2 separate regions of the Homo sapiens genome follow, and region 2 is linked to region 1. The links are contacts of gene promoters, found by promoter capture Hi-C in blood cells and fetal thymus (Javierre and others, 2016). All regions are on one chromosome and are shown on one strand. Each heading gives the region's core, a stretch centred on a gene start or on the middle of the fragment in contact. The rest is flanking DNA. Distances are from core to core; before and after follow the strand shown.

Region 1 (3,893 bases), core at 1,022-3,521:
AAGGACTACGAGGGAGCGACGCTGATGGAGTGTGAGCTGAATCCCCGCATCCCCTACACGGAGCTGTCCCACATCATCAAGAAGCAGAAAGAGGTGGTGTGCACACATGCGCATCTGTGGGATTTTTCATGAATGGGCATGCAGAGGGCGAGCACACGTGTGTAGACCTGTTCTACGTCTACATGCATATATGTGTGTGAGTGAGGAGGGGCAGGCCAGGATCTTGGCTCTTGCTCTGCTCCCTTGGGGAAGTTATGAGGGGAGGTGCTGGATTAGGTGGCGTTGCAGCTGGGTGGGTGCAGCCAGTGGCTCCGACTGTGGCCCTGGGAGGGGTTGTTGTTGGGGCTGGAGTTGGCCCCTCAGTCCCTTCCTTCCCTCAGATCATCAAGAAGCTGATTGAGCGCAAACAGGCCCAGATCCGCAAGGTCTACCCGGGGCTCAGCTGCTTCAAGGAGGGCGTGAGGCAGATCCCTGTGGAGAGCGTTCCTGGCATTCGTAAGCAGGGGTCTCAGTTGCAGGGTAGTGGGGGCACGATGCTTGGGGTGTGGACTGGCATTCTTAGAGACATTCTCCCACTTCCCACTTTGCAGGAGAGACAGGCTGGAAGCCATTGGGGAAGGAGAAGGGGTGAGTGTCAAAGGAGCCGGGTTGGGGGTGGGGCAGAGGGACTTGGAGCCTCAGACTTGGTGTCTCTCGCCCCAGGAAGGAGCTGAAGGACCCCGACCAGCTCTACACAACCCTCAAAAACCTGCTGGCCCAAATCAAGGTGGGGAGACCAGGTTTCCTTTCCAGGGCCCCTGCACCAATGGCTGTGGCCTCTTGATGCAGTGTGGGGTGGGTAGTGGTCTCGGGCTGGCGTGGGCGCAGCAGGGCTGTCCCCAGCCCGGCTCTTCTCTCCAGTCTCACCCCAGTGCCTGGCCCTTCATGGAGCCTGTGAAGAAGTCGGAGGCCCCTGACTACTACGAGGTCATCCGCTTCCCCATTGGTGAGGACCTTCCATTCCATCCCCTTCCCTCCTCTTCTGTCCCCACACCTGCTCCTGCCCTCACTGCGCCCTGCAGCCCCAGGGGGCCCACCCTGGTGGACAGCCCTGCCGTGGTCTTCAGCCTCTTAAAGCTGTGCTCCGTCTCCTGCTGCCCCAGACCTGAAGACCATGACTGAGCGGCTGCGAAGCCGCTACTACGTGACCCGGAAGCTCTTTGTGGCCGACCTGCAGCGGGTCATCGCCAACTGTCGCGAGTACAACCCCCCGGACAGCGAGTACTGCCGCTGTGCCAGCGCCCTGGAGAAGTTCTTCTACTTCAAGCTCAAGGAGGGAGGCCTCATTGACAAGTAGGCCCATCTTTGGGCCGCAGCCCTGACCTGGAATGTCTCCACCTCGGATTCTGATCTGATCCTTAGGGGGTGCCCTGGCCCCACGGACCCGACTCAGCTTGAGACACTCCAGCCAAGGGTCCTCCGGACCCGATCCTGCAGCTCTTTCTGGACCTTCAGGCACCCCCAAGCGTGCAGCTCTGTCCCAGCCTTCACTGTGTGTGAGAGGTCTCCTGGGTTGGGGCCCAGCCCCTCTAGAGTAGCTGGTGGCCAGGGATGAACCTTGCCCAGCCGTGGTGGCCCCCAGGCCTGGTCCCCAAGAGCTTTGGAGGCTTGGATTCCTGGGCCTGGCCCAGGTGGCTGTTTCCCTGAGGACCAGAACTGCTCATTTTAGCTTGAGTGATGGCTTCAGGGGTTGGAAGTTCAGCCCAAACTGAAGGGGGCCATGCCTTGTCCAGCACTGTTCTGTCAGTCTCCCCCAGGGGTGGGGGGTATGGGGACCATTCATTCCCTGGCATTAATCCCTTAGAGGGAATAATAAAGCTTTTTATTTCTCTGTGTGATTGTTTCTTTGGTGTAGTCCCAGCCTTAGCAGGCTCACCTTGGCCCCCAGGGACCTCTTGCAAACTGGAGGCTGCTCTCCCCAGCAAGCCTCAGGCCTGGTCCTGTGCTCCTGGGGTGATGGGTCCTACCTGCCTGCAGCCCCCCACCTCTCCCTCCTCCAGGCTGCTCCTGATCCAGATGCCAGGGCAGCAGGGGTCAGAACCTCCTGCCTTCACCTTAACCTGGGTGGATGTGGTTACAACTGACTGCAGAAGGGCCAGAGCGTAGAGGATCCTGTAGCACTGAAAGAGTGCTTCCCTGTTAGCACACGTGGTTCTTTTTCTTGGGGCAGGGATAGGAGATTCGTAAGTCGGCTCAGCTGGCTCCTCCCCTCAGTTTCAGTTTCCATTTCTGATTTCTGCTCTCTGCGCTGAGCACAGCGGCACCAGGCTGAGCTAAGCAGGGCCGCCTTGGGCAGGCCTACGTGGTGGTGCAGGCGAGACCCAGGCTGGGCAAGGCGCAGGTGTAGCCTGTGTTACTCCCACCCCCCCCCACCCCCACCTTTTGGCCACAGCAGGCTTCTGATGAGTTTTGAGGGTGTCCCCCCCCCCACCTCCCTCAAGTGGGGTGGAGTCCTGGGCAAAGGGAGGTCTCTGTACCGACTGCTCTGGCCAGGAGTTGGGATGAGTGGAGGGCCCAGTGGGTCTGAGTCCCCTGCCATTCCCAGAATGGAGCTGTGGCCCTACCAATGGGAGGTGATCATGCCTGCCAGGGCGCTGGCGCAGCAGCAGTACTTAACCGGAGTTTGTACTCACGGCAGTTGGCGATGACTGTTAGCACAAACGGTTCTTTTCTCTTGGTTCTTTTTCCTGGGGCGGGGATGGGAGATTCCTAAGTCGGCTCAGCTGGCTCCTTCCCTCAGTTTCAGTTTCCATCTTGGGTCTCTGAGCTGAGCAGAGTGGCACCAGGCTGAGTTAAGTGGGACTGCCCTGGGCAGACCTACCTACTAGAGCAGGTGAGTCCTGGGCTGGGCAGGGGGCAGGTGTAGCCTGTGTTACTCCCGCCTCCCCCTTTTGGGCAGAGCAGGGTCCTGATGGGTTCTGAGGGAGTCCTGCCCCACCTCCCTCAAGTGGGGTGGAGTCCTGGGCAAAGGGAGGTCTCTGTACTGACTGGTCTGGCCAGGAGTTGGGAGGGGTGGAGGAGTCGGTGGGTCTGAGTCCCCTGCCATTCCCAGAATGGAGCTTCGGTCCTACCAATGGGAGGTGATCATGCCTGCCCTGGAGGGCAAGAATATCATCATCTGGCTGCCCACGGGTGCCGGGAAGACCCGGGCGGCTGCTTATGTGGCCAAGCGGCACCTAGAGACTGTGGATGGAGCCAAGGTGGTTGTATTGGTCAACAGGGTGAGTGGTCTGTCCCTACCCCGCTCTCCCACCACCAAGCAGGGTCTTAGCTCTTCAGGCATCTCCCAGTCCCCACCAGAACTCCAAAGCTGCTGTGGCCATCGCTAAGCTCACCTGTCTTTCCACCCTGGCTCAGTACCCAGCCATGTCCTGCGGGTCACCTTACCGCCTCCCTACCCCTGGCCCCAGATTCAGCTCTCTTTTCCCAGCTCATTCTCCACCCCCAGGTGCACCTGGTGACCCAGCATGGTGAAGAGTTCAGGCGCATGCTGGATGGACGCTGGACCGTGACAACCCTGAGTGGGGACATGGGACCACGTGCTGGCTTTGGCCACCTGGCCCGGTGCCATGACCTGCTCATCTGCACAGCAGAGCTTCTGCAGATGGCACTGACCAGCCCCGAGGAGGAGGAGCACGTGGAGCTCACTGGTGAGGGCCATGGCCGGGAGGAAAAAGATACGCATCTGGGGTACCTCCTTTCGCCAACCCCAGGGCACCTCCTGGAGTCAAGGTGTTGGGAGTTTTAGTGGGAGTGAGGGGTTGCCTGTTCACAAAACCCCTGCAGGCACTCTAGTAGAAACAGGCCGGGCTATCGTGTAGGATCTTAGGCCAGTCCCTTCCCCAGCTGAGCCT
Region 2 (3,893 bases), core at 953-3,452, 130 kb after region 1:
CTGGTGAGGAAAAAACCAGAGTCAGATTTGTCCACTGATGCCAGATGTCTTCCTGTAGAACACAAACAGCTCCTAAAAAATGCGCAGCTGGAACTGAAGAAGAGTAAGAGGAAAGATTACTACAAGATTCTAGGAGTGGACAAGAATGCCTCTGAGGACGAGATCAAGAAAGCTTATCGGAAACGGGCCTTGATGCACCATCCAGGTAGAGTAGGTGCGGGGAGTGGGCTCAGTGGGAAGAACCCGCAGGGCAGGCCAACTGCCACACTCAGTCCAGAGGGGACCCCTTGGAGAGGTCCTTCAGCTGAGAATAAGGTGTTGCAGACTTGTGGACCCTCCAAATTTTGGGAAGTGCCAAATTCCAAAATTAGACAGAAAGTAGTTTTTCTCTTAAACTTTGTTTTCTTGAAACTTTGATTTCCACTGAGTTGTTCTTTTACTCCCCACTTTAGATCGGCATAGTGGAGCCAGTGCTGAGGTTCAGAAGGAGGAGGAGAAGAAGTTCAAGGAAGTTGGAGAGGCCTTTACTATCCTCTCTGATCCCAAGAAAAAGACTCGCTATGACAGTGGACAGGACCTAGATGAGGAGGGCATGAATATGGGTGGTGAGTTGGCTGGGGCAGCCTGGGATGAATTTGACAGCTGTAGAATGTTAGAATTTTTTCCAAAGATGCTCCAGAGGGAGAGTCTATTTGGGCCAAATCTGATCCCTGGTCCAAACAGTAATAGACATGGAGTCAAACAAATGCAGTCAAATGTGGCAGGTTCACAGTGTGCAGTGAGCTCTGAGGAGGCGAGCACTAGCAAGGGAAGGCTTGGAAGTGCAGAAAAGCATGGCCCCATGGGTCATGCCTGTAATCCCAGCACTTTGGGAGGCCAAGGCAAGCAGATCACTTGAGGTCAGGAGTTTGAGACCAGCCTGGCCAACATGGTGAAACCCTGTCTCTACTAAAAATACAAAAATTAGGCTGGGCGCGGTGGCTCATGCCTGTAATCTCACCACTTTGTGAGGTCAAAGCAGGTTGATCACCAGGTCAGGAGTTTGAGACCAGCCTGGCCAACATGGTGAAACCTCGTCTCTACTAAAATACAGAAATTAGCCAGGTGTGGTGGTGGGCGCCTGTAATCCCAGCTACTCGGGAGGCCGAGGCATGAGAATCGCTTGCACCCAGGAGGCGGAGGTTGCAGTGAGCCGAGATTGTCCCACTGTACTCCATCCTGGGCGACAGAGCAAGACTTTGTCTCAATTAAAAAAAATAATAAGAAGAAAGAAAAAAGAAAAATTAGCCAGGTGTGGTGGTGCACACCTGTAATCCCAGCTACTTGAACCCGGGAGGTGGAGGTTGCAGTGAGCCAAGATGGCGCTACTGCACTCCAGCCTGGGCAACAGAGTGAGACTCCATCCCTCCCCACTAAAAAAGCAAAGCATGGCCTCTTTGGGGATCTGCAGGGGGCTTGGTCTAGGGAAGATAAAGGGATAGGGTGCTAGAGGCAGGTGGTGGTGGAAGGCCGGCAAGTAGCTGGATCAGAGCTCACAGGCCATAAGGGCTGTATGTGGTAAGGAATATGAGCATTTTCCTATTATCTGGAAGTTCTTTTTTACCCACTGCAAAGTGTATGCTGACATTTATGTATGTCATACATTCCTATAAACACTCACAGATTTTAATTTCCCAAAAAGATTTAGCATGATATAAAGCACACCTATTGTCAATATTGTTGCTCACTGTGGGCTGTCAGAGATAAGAGGCCCTGACCTGTGAGCTGGGCGCGGTGGCTTACGCCTGTAATCCCAGCACTTTGGGAAGCCAAGGCGGGCAGATCACCTGAGCTCAGGAGTTCAAGACCACCCTGGGCAACATACAAAATACCAAAAAAATTGTACTCTCTACTAAAATACAAAAAAATTAGCTGAGCATGGTGGTGCATGCCTGTGGTCCAAGCTACTCAGGAGACTGAGGCACCAAAAACTCTTGAGCCCAGGAGGCAGAGGTTGCAGTGAGCTGAGATTGCGCCACTGTACTCCAGCTTGGGTTACAGAGTGCGACTCCATCTCAAAAATTAATTAATTAATTCAGTCAGTCTTCACTCTAAGTTGTCTGCCAAAAAATTTGCTGGGCATGGTGGCTCACGCCTGTAATCCCATCACTTTGGGAGAACAAGGTGGGCGGACCACAAGGTCAAGAGATTGAGACCATCCTGCCCAACATGGTGAAACCCCGTCTCTATGAAAAATACAAAAATTAGCTAGCCATGGTGGCGCACGCCTGTAGTCCCAGCTACTTGGGAGGCTGAGGCAGGAGAATCGCTTGAACTCGGGAGGCGGAGGTTGCAATGAGCTGAGATCGCACCACTGCACTCCAGCCTGGCGACAGAGCAAGACTTGTCTCAAAAAAAAAAAAAAAAAGAGGACCTGACCTGTGAATGGTGAACAGACCTACCATCTCTTCCACTAAGAAAATCTATTGGGATTTTGTTTTTTGTTTTGTTTTGTTTTTTGAGACGGAGTCTTGCTGTGTCACCCAGGCTGGAGTGCAGTGGCACCATCTCGACTCACTGCAACCTCCGCCTCCAGGGTTCAAGTGATTCTTCTGCCTCAGCCTCCCGAGTAGCTGGGACTACAGGTGTGCGCCACCACGCCCAGCTAATTTTTGTATTTTAAGTAGAGACGGGGTTTTACCATATTGGCCAGGCTGATCTGGAACTCCTGACTTCGTGATCCACCCACCTCGGCCTCCCAAAGGGCTGGAATTACAGGCGTGAGCCACCGCGCCCGGCCTTTTTTTTTTTTTTTTTTTTTTTAAGACTGAGCCCAGTCTGGGTGCAGTAGTGCCATCTTGGCTCACTGCAACCTCTGCCTCCAGGGTTCAAGCAATTCTCCTGCCTCAGCCTCCTGAGCAGCTGGGATTACAGGCATCCACCCCCATGCCTAGCTAATTTTTATATTTTTAGTAGAGACAGGGTTTCACCATGTTGGCCGGGCTGGTCTTGAACTCCTGACCGCAAGTGATCTACTGGCCTTGGCCTCCCAAAGTGCTGGGATTACAGGCGTGAGCCACTGTGCCTGGCCTTCCATTGCAACTTATTTATTTATTTAATTTTTTTTTGTTGTTATGTTTTTGAGACATGGTCTTACTCTGTCACCCAGGCTGGTGTGCAGTGGTGCAGTCTCAGCTCACGGCAACCTCCACCTCCCAGGTTCAAGAAATTCTCCTGCCTCAGCCTCCTGAGTAGCTGGGATTACAGGCACCTGCAGCCACACCCGGCTAATTTTTATATTTTTAGTAGAGACGGGGTTTCACCATGTTGGCCAGGCTGGTCTCAAACTCCTGACTTTGTGTGATCCGCCCATCTTGGCCTCCCAAAGTGTTGGGATGACAGGCGTGAGCCACCGCACCCAGCCGGAATTTAAAATAAGAATGATGGTACTATATAGATAATGCTGAGTCCTCTCCAGTTCAGTGTGGGGGTATTTGTGTTTAATAAACCTAGGTTCACCACAATAAACATGTTCCTCTGCCTAGCAGTTAAGAAGATCTATAAGCAGTCAAAAACTAGTGAAGAGGTTTTGTTTTGTTTTGAGACGGAGTCTCACTCTGTCGCCCAGGCTGGAGTGCAGTGGCGCGATCTCTGCTCACTGCAAGCTCCGCCTCCCGGGTTCACGCCATTCTCCTGCCTTAGCCTCCCAAGTAGCTGGGACTACAGGCACCTGCCACCACGCCCGGCTAATTTTATTTTATTTTATTTTTATTTTTATTTTTTTTAGTAGAGACGGGGTTTCACTTTGTTAGCCAGGATGATCTCGATCTCCTGACCTCGTGATCCACCCACCTTGGCCTCCCAAAGTGCTGGGATTACAGGCCTGAGCCACCACGGCCAGCCGTGAAGTTTTA

Evidence for each region. The method cuts DNA at HindIII sites, captures the fragments that hold promoters and counts their contacts. A CHiCAGO score of 5 or more calls a contact.
Region 2: a contact is called between a fragment that was not itself captured here and the fragment with the promoter of DHX58 in region 1, in 2 of 17 cell types (monocytes and M1 macrophages). The highest score is 6.0, in monocytes.

The regions. Positions count from the first base shown.
Region 1 is chr17:42,111,092-42,114,984 of GRCh38, reverse strand. It overlaps DHX58 (DExH-box helicase 58), which reads left to right and starts at 2,271. Exons shown (of 14, transcript NM_024119.3): 1 at 2,271-2,380; 2 at 2,780-2,872; 3 at 3,092-3,260; 4 at 3,488-3,689. The coding sequence starts at 3,093. It overlaps KAT2A (lysine acetyltransferase 2A), which reads left to right. Exons shown (of 18, transcript NM_021078.3): 13 at 1-93; 14 at 381-495; 15 at 591-627; 16 at 703-766; 17 at 901-985; 18 at 1,143-1,874. The coding sequence ends at 1,336. RefSeq lists enhancers at 1,904-2,423, 2,664-2,763. The HindIII fragment of the contact is 8,851 bases long and covers 1,860-3,893 here.
Region 2 is chr17:41,978,567-41,982,459 of GRCh38, reverse strand. DNAJC7 (DnaJ heat shock protein family (Hsp40) member C7) reads left to right here. Exons shown (of 14, transcript NM_003315.4): 11 at 59-205; 12 at 453-605. Among named protein-coding and RNA genes, the nearest start is that of CNP, 14 kb to the right of the region's middle. The HindIII fragment of the contact is 4,055 bases long and covers 175-3,893 here.